2 separate regions of the Homo sapiens genome follow, and region 1 is linked to region 2. Evidence: promoter capture Hi-C in human tissues and cell types (Jung and others, 2019). All regions are on one chromosome and are shown on one strand. The core of a region is centred on a gene start or on the middle of the fragment in contact, and the rest is flanking DNA. Distances in the headings are between cores, read along the strand shown. Region 1 holds the start of AGO1 (argonaute RISC component 1). Region 2 holds the start of PSMB2 (proteasome 20S subunit beta 2).

The links. The method cuts DNA at HindIII sites, captures the fragments that hold promoters and counts their contacts. A contact is called where the count stands out against the background at its distance.
Region 1: a contact is called between a fragment that was not itself captured here and the fragment with the promoter of PSMB2 in region 2, in 1 of the 25 tissues and cell types used here (hippocampus).

Annotation. Positions count from the first base shown.
Region 1 is chr1:35,881,303-35,887,772 of GRCh38, forward strand. AGO1 (argonaute RISC component 1) reads left to right here and starts at 1,907. Exons shown (of 19, transcript NM_012199.5): 1 at 1,907-2,144. The coding sequence starts at 2,120. RefSeq lists a silencer at 1,670-2,129 and enhancers at 4,480-5,119, 5,757-5,816. The HindIII fragment of the contact is 3,416 bases long and covers 2,210-5,625 here.
Region 2 is chr1:35,638,466-35,645,161 of GRCh38, forward strand. It overlaps PSMB2 (proteasome 20S subunit beta 2), which reads right to left and starts at 3,061. Exons shown (of 6, transcript NM_002794.5): 1 at 2,877-3,061. The coding sequence starts at 2,967. RefSeq lists enhancers at 2,036-3,001, 2,790-3,249, 3,002-3,966. The HindIII fragment of the contact is 3,605 bases long and covers 1,921-5,525 here.

The sequences.
Region 1 (6,470 bases), core at 2,668-5,167, 240 kb after region 2:
ATCCAAGTTTTGTTTTTTGGTTTTTGTTTTTTTTTGAGACGGAGTTTCACTCTTGTTGCCCAGGCTGAAGTACAATGGCGTGATCTCAGCTCACTGCAACCTCCCCCTCCCCGGTTCAAGCTATTCTCCTGCCTTAGCCTCCTGAGTAGCTGGGATTACAGGTGTCTGCCACAACACCTGGCTAATTTTTTGTATTTTTAGTAGAGACGAGACTTCACTATGTTGGCTAGGCTGGTCTTGAACTCCTGACCTCAGGTGATCCACCCGCCTTGGCCTCCCAAAGTGCTGGGATTACAGGCGTGAGCCACTGCGCCCAGCCACCAATCCAAGTTTTAACAAGCTTTCCAGGTGATTCTGATGGTTGCTGTTTGAGAACCTCTAGAAGCAAGGCATGGTATAAGTGTCAGAAATTAATCTCCTCATGAGTAAGGACCGGTTATGGTCCATCCCTTAAGTTCCCAGCCTCTGCATGGCATCTAGTGTAAAGCAGGCATCAAAAATTTGTGAGTTTATGGGAAAGTGATGTTTGAGCTGGGTCTCTTACCCCGCCTATCACTGCACCAGACCGAATAGGAGGGAGAATGGGAGTTCCCAGAAACTTTGAGACTAGCAAGGAAGTGGTTGTGATACGTCTAGCAAGATATGATAAGGGTCTGCACCAGCATAAGAAACCATCAGAATGGCAGTGAATCATGTGAGAGCAGTTCAGAAGGTAAACATGTCAAGACGTGGTGAACAGCTGAATAGATGGAAAGAACAAGGGATAGAGGAACTGTCATTTCTGACATGAAGGTGCTGTTCGCTGAGATAGGAAGCACAGGGCAAGTATGTTTGTGAGTGAAAGATAAAGTGTTTGGTTTGGACTTCTTAAATTTGAAGTGCTGGTAGGATATCCAGGTGGAGCTGTCCAGCAAACACTTGGAAATGTGAGTATGAGACATGGTTGGAAACAGAGATTTGGAAGGATAGTTGGGCCGTAAGAGTGGATGAGACCTTTAAGGGGAGAGTGGAATGAGAAGAGAGCTGGGTTTGGAACCACAGTGAACAGTTAATGAGGCAAAAGCAAAAGGGGCCCTTTAGAAAGACTGAAAAGGACTTAGGCAATAGGAGACTGCAGAAGATGCCGCAGCCAAGTAGAAGGCTCAGAAGGGAAGTAGAGGCACAGTGACAGATGCTGCAGAGAAATAATTGAAAAGTATCCTTTGGATGTCAACCCCAAAAGTCATTTAAGTGACGTGATGAGGGCAGAAGCTGATTGACAGTTCAGGCATGAACTGTAGATGAGAAAGTGGAGGCAGGTGCTTCCCAGGTCCGGCGGATAGAGCTCTGTAGCTGCACTTAAGTTCAAACTGTGACATCTTCCAGGGTAGGCCGCGTCTCTACTTATCTGTGGTCTCAGCGTCCAGCACATGGCGTGGAAGAGGGGGTGGCGTCAGTGAGTTCAGTGACTAGGGACGGAGAAAGACTTCGTGGAGGCAGTCGCTTTGCAGCCAAGGCTTGAAGGATGAGGGTGATTGGGAGGAGAGGTGGGAGGCAGGGCCCCTGGGCGCTGGAGTGCCAGGGGGTCTGGGAATGAAGTGGGGTTCCCATAATGTGTGCGCGCAGCTCGGTGCGACAGGCGGGGGCTGTGTGTAGGTTTGGAGGGACCTATTTGGGGAAAAGACACAGGGCTGAAGGCTGCTGTGGCGGGATGTCCCTTCGCCCTGCCCCACTTATACCACTGCGCGGTTCCAAGGCACCTCTACTGGCGCCCTCCCGCCGGGCTGCATGGCGACGGGTGACCGCCAGGGGCCGCTGCCTTGGGTCCCCGGTGCCCCCGCCCCTCTCCATTGGCCTTTGTTGCCGTCGGAGCGCCCCGCTTGACTCGTTCCGGTCCGCCCCCTGGGCCCGGCGGTCGCGCCTGCGCACTGGCAGCTGGCCGGGCGCTCGCAGTGGGAGCTGCTGCAGGCTCCGCGGCGGCGGCAACGGAGGCTGCGGGGGCGGCGGCGCGAGCGGCCGGGCTTGGTAGGGGAGCCGAGCCCGGCCCGGGATCCCGAGCAGCGAGAGTGTGGGGTACCTAGGCCCCTCACGCTGGACTTCACAGTCTCCGGGCCGCCTGACCTCCGCACGGGTATATGGGATGGAAGCGGGACCCTCGGGAGCAGGTAAGGGTCCCCAGGAGGGGGAACGGTGCATGCTCCAAGGACTGGGGGATCCCGCATGAAAAGCGTGGTTTCCAAGTGATGGAAGCGCTCCTGAGTGAGGAGAAGGGCTCTCCCACGATGGGGGCCCAGTTTGAAGGAGGCTGTGTGCAGTTCCGGGGGAGAACCATGTGAAGAGAGCCCTGAGATGGGGGCTGTTTGTCCAAGGAGGCTGTATACAGTCCTGCGGGTTGGAAGTAATCTGGGAGAAGGGCCTGCACGCACGGAAGGACTCCCAGACATCCGTGGAGGCCTACGGAGAGGCCCGGCAGGTGGCAGGGGACGGGCTCCAGGTGTCCAGGAGAGGAGGGGGCGACACAGATGGGCCTGGAGCTACCGCATGCCGGGGGCGGGGGCTCCGCTGGGCTGGAATAGGCTAATGTCTCTTGGGAGAAGGCGCCAGAGCTGGACTGTGAGCTCCGCCCCACTGGGCCTGACGCGAGGGCGAGGGTCAGGGGGCGGTGGGTGGGGACCCAGTCCCGGGATTACCCCCCGTGGGTCTGGGGAGTCGGAGCGGAGGCTCCAGAGCATGCGCGGAGGTGGCAGCTGGAAGGGGCTGCCCGACGTGGTGGGGGCGTGGCTGTCCGAATACCCCCACCTCTCCACACCCCCCCGCCCCGCCCCGTTTGGCTTGGAAAAAGGAGCGCGCTGATGGGGTGCATTCTCTCTTAGGTTATGCTGGCAGTGTGCAAATGGTTATGGTCCCCTCCCCCATTTTAGGGGCTCTTACACTTGGCCCTCAGTCACAGTTTGCTAAGAATGGGTTGAGGGAAGCTGCCAAAGTGCATTTTTCTGCCACAGGAAAGACTGGGACCGAAGCGATGGGTTCTGGGGGTGGGTCCTCCTGAAGATAGGCCTTAGGAAAGGTATTGGTTACGGAGGAATCAAGGACAGGGCAGGGGCTACCTGGAAGGAGTTGTCTGCTTGGTTTGCAAGTTTCTGCTCCAATACTGAGTAGTGATGGGGGCTTTTAATCCAAAGATTTTCCATTGAATTGTCTGTTAAGGTTACACTCTACATTTATAACATTTATTCTAATATTTCTTAATATTTTCATGGCTCCTATCTTCCACTGGATATCTTTCCGTTTTCCTCTCCCCACTCCCCAGAAACTGTCAGGGCTGTCTTTAGAGCCAAGATCTAAACCCTACAAACACGTTGGAGGATGGGGGAGTTTATAGCCTTCATCCTGGTGAGGCCTAGGTGATAGCCTTAACTTCTTATTTGCAGGCAATGAGGAGGAAAAGACATAGGAACAGAGGATAAACTGAGGCAGGATTGCCTCAAGAAAACTGGAGTCCTTAGGATGGGCTGTGGGGTGGTGATACCTCTTGTGTCTTAAGTGTCTTACCCTGTGATGGGACGAGGAGCCTGGACCTGGGAATCCTTCAGGTCATCTCTCACCACTTCCTTACATTTGGTCTGGGGATGGGAATCAAATTTCCATTTAGGCCATGAACTTCATTACTTTCCTAGTGGAATTATTTTGTTTTTTTTGTAGCAGACCTAACTCCCTCCCACCCTCCCAAGGAAATAGCTCCTACGACCTCACTCAAGTTATCCATTTAGTGATCTCTAAGTACTTAGTGACTGTTTTCCCTCTTAACAACCAGCCTTGTATAGACTGTGTAGTCGTAAGGATAAGCACAGGGAGCAACTGACTTGAGTACTTCCTCTCTGTCAGGACCCTCTCTCCATCCCAGGAACTTCTGTTTTTCAAGGCTGGGGACTATTTCCAACAACCCATGAACTAGAGTAGTGGGGTAGGTCATTGAGGTCCACATGGATTGCTGGTTGCTGGTACCCATTCTAGACTAATGATTTTTATCCTGATGAATTCCTAATAGGCTCTGGAGTGATGAAAAATTGACTTTTTAAAAATTTGTTACAAAAAATAAGCTTATAGGAAAGGAGCTAGAACCTGCTGTTTGGAGTCAGCCAAAGCCTTGGGAAAAGCCGAATAGGACAGGCTTTGCCTCAGTAAAGGGTATAATTGAGATTCAGTCTGGAAGCTGCAAATTGAGGGACCCCATAACTGCCTCCTTCCTAGGCCCGGACTGTTCTCTTATAAGAAGTTAGAGTGGTGTCCCAAGGTGGCCTGAGGACATAATACACAAAACTAAAGCGTTGTGTAAAAAACAACAACAAAAAACCCCCCAAAAACTAAAGCATTGTTGCTAGCCTCACTGGGCTTATGCCCAGGTCTGCCTTCTGTGCTCAGGTGTGTTCCAAGCACATACAGTGGACTGGGTGCTCCCTGAGGGTAGAAGCAGTGTCTGGTTTATTTGTAGAACTAGCAAGTGCCTAGTGTATAGGCCCTGGCACAGAATACATGTTTATTAATTAAATCAAATCACATTCAAGTGTGAACATAAATGGTTAAGCACGTATGTGGATATTTAATAAAGTGTATACTCACATGGAACAGATCCTTTTTGGAGAGATTGGCTTGTTAGTCTTTGCTTGCCCACCAGCTAACCTAACCTAACCTAACCTTGAATTTGTGTCTTTTGAATAGGCAGTCTGGCTCCTTGGGAGGTGTGTGGGCCTCAGAACTGCAAGAAAGGAATCCTGAGCCAGGGTTTTCAGCTCTGTTACTTTTCCTTCTCTGGGCTCCTTGGGGATGGGGGAGGGGGAGTGTCCTTTTCAGGGCCCCTCCCTCCTTGCTTTTGTCTGAAGAGAAGGGTCCCGCCCCTTTCCCCCTAGGCCCAAGCTTTGTCCTCTGTGCTGGGGCCCTCATCTGCATCACAAAGTGGCCGTCTGTCCCTGTCTGGGTCTGTAGGGAAGTGTCTCCCTTTCTCAGACTAAAAGCTGGGGTAAGGGGGGCGGGGAGGAGACAGTGCTGTTGTTAGGCTTTCAGGGGGATGTAATGGGAGAGAGGTTCCTGCTTCCTGCTGTCTTTCCTAGTTTGGAGATGAAGTGGGGGTGTGGGCTCCCCTGTTTTCCCAAAGCCTCTTTGGAGAGGAAGGTGCTCTAAGGCTATGTGTGGTATGTAGTCGGGTTTCTGGGGAAGAGAAGGCTTTGAGGCTAGAGTGTCTGTCCCATCCCCCATCATTTCTAACTAGCCCCCCAGCTCTAGGAGTTATCTTTCTCCGAAGGCCCCAAATGATTATTCAGTCTGGGAGGGGAAGAAGGTGAATGAAATATAAGAACTTGGGGAGGGAAAGGATGTCTCTTACTGGCTACACCCACAAACGTGCATATTTGTCTTGTGTAGTGTTTATAATTGTTTCTGGGCAATTGCAGGTGTTCGTGTGTCTGTGTGCTGTGTGTGCTTGTGTGTTTTTGTGGTGTGTCTATGGATATGTTTGTTCATTCATTTCATATCAGTATGTTGAATACTTCCTGTGTGTGTGTCAGACACTGGAAATTAAACAGTGACCAAGGCAGATATAGTCCCTGCCTTTGAAGAACTCAGTCTAGGGCAGTGAAGGATATGTGTGTAAGTGTAAATTGCCAAGGTCTAAGTGTGTGTTTGGATGTGTGTGATGGGGATGTGTGTCTGTCTGTCCGTGAGCTTGTGTGCAATTTCTGTCCAGCACTTTCTGAGGTAGGCAGCCAGGTGCTAGTAGATAGGTTTTCCCTTCCCCATGTAGCTGAGTTCTGAAGACCTTTTCCATCCAGGCTGGGCCTTCATTTCCCTGTCTGCAGAGTGGGACTGGGCTTGGACAGGTGGTTAGAGGGAAACAGAGCAGCTTAGCTCTGGGAAGCTGCCCCTCCCATGAATGGTTCTGACCTCTTCCTGACCCCCAGCTGAGGGTATGCCCCATCCCCCCAGCTTGTCTGACTGTGAAAGCAGAAGTCTGATAATGGGAGGTTCTGGGCTGGTTTATCCCTCTCTTCTCCCACCTGGGCTAGTTCTCTACTGCCAAGAACAATAGCAGCATATTATTCCCTTTTTTTCTCTCTTCCCCCCAAGCTAGAAAATAAGACTGGAGACAGCAGCCAGACTGGCAAAAGAGGGTAAAGTAGCTGGATCTGGCCTTACCCTATCCCTTTCCCAAGGGCCTCCTCTGTCTTGAAATTGATCTCTTCTGCTGCTGTCTGGACCTTCTGTGTGGAAGGATCTGTGGGGCATGGAGAGAATCTTGTGTTCTTCCCAGAGCCAGTGTCTCTTCTCCAGCATTCTAATTGCCACCTCTTCTTCCCAAACCCGTTAGTTCTTTCTTTATTCAAGCTTTTTTTTTTATCATTGTCTCCCCAGTTGCTGCTTTGTTTCTTCCTGCCTGAGCTTCCAACCCTAACCTCTTTTGCCCCACCCCTTGACTCCAGCCTTCTCTTTCTCCTGGC
Region 2 (6,696 bases), core at 1,811-4,310:
TCTCTAAGCCCCAGTTTCCAGATGTGTGAAATGTTATTTCCAAATGTGTGAAATGTTAATAATATGACTTACCCCTGTCTAACTCACAAGTGAGAAAAACTAATGAATTCTATACATGTCCAATATTATGATACTCAGTGTTAGATAATGTAGTTCGGATTATACATGCTATAGGAATTCAGAAAAGAGAGAATTCTGTGTGGGCTGGAGTACTCCGAGTAACTTAAAAGCAATTCTACATAGGCCAAGAGAAAAGAGACATGAAATGCGGCATATAAGCAAACCAAAAGTTATACCACTTAATAAGGTGGCAATCCTCAGCAAATGTCTACTCTATAGTATCAAAATGTTTTTACAAAGTGACATACTGGACAATTGATTGGAAGTTGTATTATCATTTTATACTTGGAGAAAGGAGTCCCAGAAGGTTACTATTTTTTCAGCATTCTTGCCTACTCTAAACAAGCTCCATCGTGAAATGAATGATTAGAAAAAAGTCATCAGACGGCTGGGCACGGTGGCTCACGCCTGTAATCCCAGCACTTTGGGAGGCGGAGGCAGGTGGATCACCTGAGGTCAGGAGTTTGAGACCAGCCTGGCCAAACTGGTGAAACCCCGTTTCTACTAAAAATACAAAAATTAGCTGGGCATGGTGACGGGCGCCTGTAATCCCAGCTACTTGGAAGGCCGAGGCAGGAGAATCGCTTGAACCCAGGAGGTGGAGGTTGCAGTGAGCCGAGATCGCGCCATTGCACTCCAGCCTGGGTGACAGAGCGAGACTCTGTCTCAAAAATAAATAAATAAAATAAATAAAAAAGTCATCATACAATACTAAAATTTCTATTATAATTTGTTTTATACCAGAAAAGACTATAGGGAAAATTGGAATGTGCAGAGTGCAACTATTTCCAATTATTTTTCAAGAACTAACTCAAATTCATCTTTCTCCCATACCATAGTTATCTTTCTTTTATTACTCTTAGGATTTGCTCTTGAACTCATTAATTTAAAAACCAACCTACTACTAACTAGTAATACTTCTTTTATTATATAAAATCATCTTGCAGCATTTATTTCCTTGTTTTCTTAATGTCTTGGACTCTTCTATGGGTTATAAGTAATATACTGCATCCCCTATAATGACTAAAAGTACTGTGTACATAAGTAGGCTTAAAGCACATTCTACTTTTCAATGTGATTTCACATACATTTGGGATGAAACAAAAGACCTGTAAAGATAATGATTATTGTTCTACCTAGACATGACTTAATGTTAAAATCACTTGCTTGTCAAAGACCTTAGTATTCAAAATAATGGACAAATTTACTCTCAAAACAAATTCACTCCTTTGGAAGGACTGGCTTACAAACAAAACTTCTACAAACTAATCATAGAATTTCATAAAGTATAAGGTGCTATGTTAAGTGATTTACATTAATTCATTAACCTTTTGAGATAGGTGCTATTACATTACCACCTTATAGATGTTAGCTCTAGGGCACGGAGTTAGAGAAATTTGCTTAAGGTCACAAGTGGCAGAACCTGGGTTCAACCTATGCAGTGAGTCCAGACATTTTGCCCCTAAGTACTATAATATACTATACTATACTATACTATACTATACTATACTATACTATCTATACTAAATTACTCAATACATAATTTTAAGAAGATTTTGGTTGTTTTTCTGCAGAATCTAAGTTTGTTTTCCTTAACTGATCAAAGACGTGCTACTGTTGAAAAAGTATTAAGCTTTGGTTCAGATGACTTAATGGTCATTTGACAAATATGTTTGGGCACCTACGTACACTTAGTATTATTAAGTACCTGCCTAGTGCTAAGGATTTGCACATAACTCATTTACTAAATCCTCCCGACAAGTTTGTGAGTTTGGTATTGCTAATCTTAAAGATGAGGAAATCTGGGCACTGCAAAATAACTTATACAAACTCATAAGGCAAATAAATGACAGGGCTCCAATCTCTTAACTCCATTAACTACTTAAATATAAGGAAAACCTGGCAGCCATTGCTCTGGAAAACTGGAAAAGAAGAATCGGGAGCCACGGGAAGAAGGAAAATGCCAAGCTTCTGGTCCCACAGTCTCACTCTCCCCAGGATCCCACCTTATGCCGCCAACAAACTAACCTCATTACTAGCGACACCAGGAAACTTATCAGAGATTCGGGGATCTAGAGAGCCAGTCCCACAGTCTCACTCTCCTCAGGATCCCACCTTATGCCGCCAACAAACTAACCTCATTACTAGCGACACCAGGAAACTTATCAGAGATTCGGGGATCTAGAGAGCCAGGCTCTGGGCAGGCGCTTAAACATTTATAAACTGATTCCCTTTAGGCAACTCTCACCAAGCAAGAAGCATTTAGCGAAGGCCAGAGCAGAGCACTGACCCAGGAGCCCTGGAGGAGCAAATGCCAAGGTCCCAGACCTGTCTGCCTGTTTCGCCTGTAATCCCAGCACTTTGGAAGGCCGAGACGGGCGGATCTCCTGAGGTCGGGAGTTCGAGACCAGCCTGACCAATATGGAGAAATCCACATCTCTACTAATAATACAAAAATTAGCCAGGCGTGGTGGCGCATATCTGTTCCCAGCTACTCGGGAGGCTGAGGCACGAGAATCGCTTGAACCCGGGAGACAAAGACTGTGCTAAGCCGAGATCGCGCCATTGCACTCCGGCCTGGACAACAAGAGCGAAACCCCTCTCGAAAAAATAAATAAATAAATAAAATAAGTACGGGCAGGGCAGGCCGGCTTCCATCTCTCAGATCCTCCCTGGTACTTATTCAACCCCCGACAAACTCCTTCTGGCCGCTCCTACACCCCAGGCCTGGCCGGGCCTCCCCTGCTTCCTCTCACCGTCCTTCATCTGGACAATATTGCTGGCGGCCACCCGGTCGGAGGCGACAAGAACATAGTCGGGGCCTTGGATACCGATGAGGTACTCCATGGTGGCGGAAGGCCAGGGGCTGCAGGTCCGACACAGCACGAGACTCGCCCGCTTCCAGGTCTCACCGGTGAGACAGCACCTCAGAGCGAAGATTGGCGCGACGCCTGCAGCACGACTTCCACGGCGCTCTCGGATGACGTACAACTGTCGCGAGAGGTTGCAAAGCGGGCGCGGCGCCGGGTGCCTTATGTTCAGTGCTTGTCTCTGGGATCGTACGGGTCTCCTCCGGAGCAGGCTGTGCAGGTCACTTGCCTTATGTGACGCCCAGTTTCTCTGTTTACACACTAAGATTTTAAAAGTGGCTTTAGGATAAAATCACGCAGTGTATGTAAGGTGCCGAGCACGTGTGGGTGTCAAAAAGGGGTAGGTAGCCAGGCAGCCGTTTCCCTACGTTGCTCGGTAAAATCTCCCCAGAAACCCCTTTCCTGCAAGCCAGATTGGAGAAAAATTAACTTGAGGGGAGCCTTACTTCCATCCTTCACAAAAATAGTATATGGTTGGATTAAAGATATAAGCATGGCCGGGCGCAGTGGCTCACGCCTGTAATCCCAGCACTTTGGGAGGCCAAGGCAGGCGGATCACCTGAGCTTGGGAGTTCGAGACCAGCCTGACCAATATGGAGAAACCCCGTCTCTACTAAAAATACAAAATTAGCTGGGCGTGGTGGCGCATGCCTGTAATCCCAGCTACTCTGGAGGCTGAGACAGAGAATCGCTTGATCCCTGGAGGCGGAGGTTGCGGTGAGCACTCCAGCCTGGGCAACAAAAGCGAAACTCCGTCTCAAAAAAAAAAAAAAAAAAAAAAAAAAAAAAAAAAAAAAAAAAAAGAGAGGGAGAGAGATACAAACATGGAAGAAAAAGTAGAAAAATATTTCTGTAATTTTTGGAAGAGATGTGTTTCTAAGCTTGACAGGGAACCCAGAAGCAATATGAGAAAAGACTTGACAGATTTGACTACCTAAAATTACACGTCTCTATGTGGTGAAAGTCATTATCATGCTCAACAGTAAATGTAAATTGGGAATGTTTCAATTGTAGAAATAGTTACTATTTTGGACCTTATAGACAGAAGAAAGGAAAAAGTTAATATCTATAACTTAAAAGATATTCCTACAAACCAATGGGAGGGGAGCCGGGTGAGACAATACCATTTTTAAAAGACCCGGCAGGGCACGGGGGCGGATCAAGAGGTCGGGAGTTCGAGAACAGCCTGGCCAATATGGTGAAACCCCGTCCCTACTAAAAATACAAAAAATTAGTTGGGCGTGGTGGCAGGCGCCTGTACTACTCCGGAGGCTGAAGCAGGAGAATTGCTTGAACCTAGGAGGCGGAGATTGCAGTGAGCCGAGATAGCGCCCCTCCACTCCAGCCTGTGCAACAGAGAGACTCCATCTCAAAAAAAAAAATAAAAAATAAAAAAAGACCAAAGACTAAGAAAAACAATTCACAAAAGAAGCAACACGAATGGCCAATAAACATGAAAAGATCCTCAACCTTGATGGTAATTAGGAAAATGGGAAATAAGAAACAATGAGAAAGTATAAATTGGGGGTAAGGTTCTAAGTTGTACAACCTTTTTATAGAGAACAATTTTAATATCTGTTAAATATGCATAACCTTTTGAATATGTCCAAAAGAAATGTTTGGACACACAGTCCAAATATTTGTGTACCGAGATACTCAGTGTTGCCAGGGGCAGTGGCTCACGCCAGTAATCCTAGCACTTTGGGAGGCCAAGACGAGCGGATCACGAGTTCAGGAGTTCGAGACCAGCCTGGCCAACATGATGAAACCCCGTCTCTACTAAAAATACCAAAATTAGCTGGGCGTGGTGGTGCGGCACCTGTAATCCCAGCTACTGGGGAGGCCAAGGCAAGAGAATCGCTTGAACCCGGGAGGCAGAGGTTGCAGTGAGCCAAGATCACACCATTACACTCCAGCCTGGGCAACAGAGCAAGACTCTCTCTCAAAAAAAAAAAAAAAAGAGAGAGAGATATTTAGTGTTGCAGCACTACAACACAAAAGAGGACCAACTTACGTGTCTAAAAGTGGAGACATTGTTGGGCCGGGTGTGGTGGCTCATGCCTGTAATCCCATCACTTTGGAAGGCCAAGGTAGGTGGATCACGTGAGGTGAGGAGTTCGAGACCAGCCTGACCAACATGGTGAAACCCGGTCTCTACTAAATACAAAAAATTAGCCGGGCGAGGTGGCAGGCGCCTGTAATCCCAGCCACTTCAAGAGGTTGAGGCAGGAGAATCGCTTGAACCTGGGAGACAGAGGTTACAGTGAGCTGAGATCGTGCCACTGCACTCCAGCCTGGGCAACAAGGGCAAAACTCTGTCTCAAAAAAAAAAAAAATGTAGTACAGTCATAGTGGAATATTGTGCACCCATAAAAAGAATGAGATGAATCTAAATATACCTATATATTCCATGGCCCAAGATACATTAAGTGAAAGTAAAAATGCTTTTTTATATGTAGCCTGATGCCATTTTGTTTAACTATGAATATTTGAATATGAATGGAATACCTGTAAATACCTGTTTACAGGTATTCTAGTGTCAAATTATTTGCATTTATTACCCTGGTGAGTGTAATTTGAAGGGAGAACTTTCACTTTTTATTTTATACACATGGGTATTGTTTGAATGTTTTACAGTGCTCATGTACTATTTGTATTTTTTCTAATAGAAAAAAAAACAGCCATCCCTTTATATCTTGAAGCAATTCTGAAAAAAAGGTGAAATATTTCTTGATTGGGTTTCTGACATCCACAACTGAGTCTTCATACTAGCTTATTGAGAAATGGGAAACGAGTTGCAGTTGTATCTCCAAACACAACTATGCAATTCGTTTGTCTCTGCAGAAATTGTAATACTTTATTCTGAATGTTTCTTCCAGCTCCCTGCACATAAAGGAACACAGAGCCTGAGGAGTTTGAGGCAGCCTATCAATCATGGGATGGATGCCAGGGGCAAGTGAGGTCATTAAGTCAACCATCCACTATGAACACAGCTGCATCCATCACTCTAGAAAGATTGTTTTCTTAAATACCACTTGGAGGGGGGAGGTCTCTCTCTCTCTCTCTCTCATCCTCATTGTGTGTGTTTGTGTGTTTTTTTAATTGCAAAAAGTACATAGTTATACTATATATACACACATACACAAACAATATAGAAGAAACAAAGAGTTAAATACCTTTCCTTCCGCCAAAGGTAACCACCCACTGAATGTCTGTATCCTTCCAGACTTTTCCTTTGTACATACCAATATTCATTCATTCACAAACGCTGCAGATTTCTGAATTGGAAGATCCACAGTATTTTTATTATTATTTTTAAGGACTATCTTTTAAGCTGATTCATCCTTCTTTCTTTCCAGGCTTTTTTATTTTTATTTTTATTTTTTTGAGACAAAATCCTGGGTTCAAGTGATCCTCCTGCCTCAGCCTCCCAAGTAGCTGCACTACAGTCACATGACACCACACCCAGCTCTCCCTAGGACTTTTTGAAATCTGCTTTAGCTAAGTAGCACTAGAGCTGCCCTCATTTCTTGTTAGTATAGAAGAAAGTAGGTTTTCAAGACCTAGCTTGTGCTGTGTCACTCTCCTCCAACTAAAGTCTTAGAATAACTGAGTCTTAGAATTAGAAGTCTGTGGAGGTTCACAGAAGTAGCATAATGTAGCCAAAATATTTACAGATAGTAAATATTTTTGGCTTTGCAGGTCA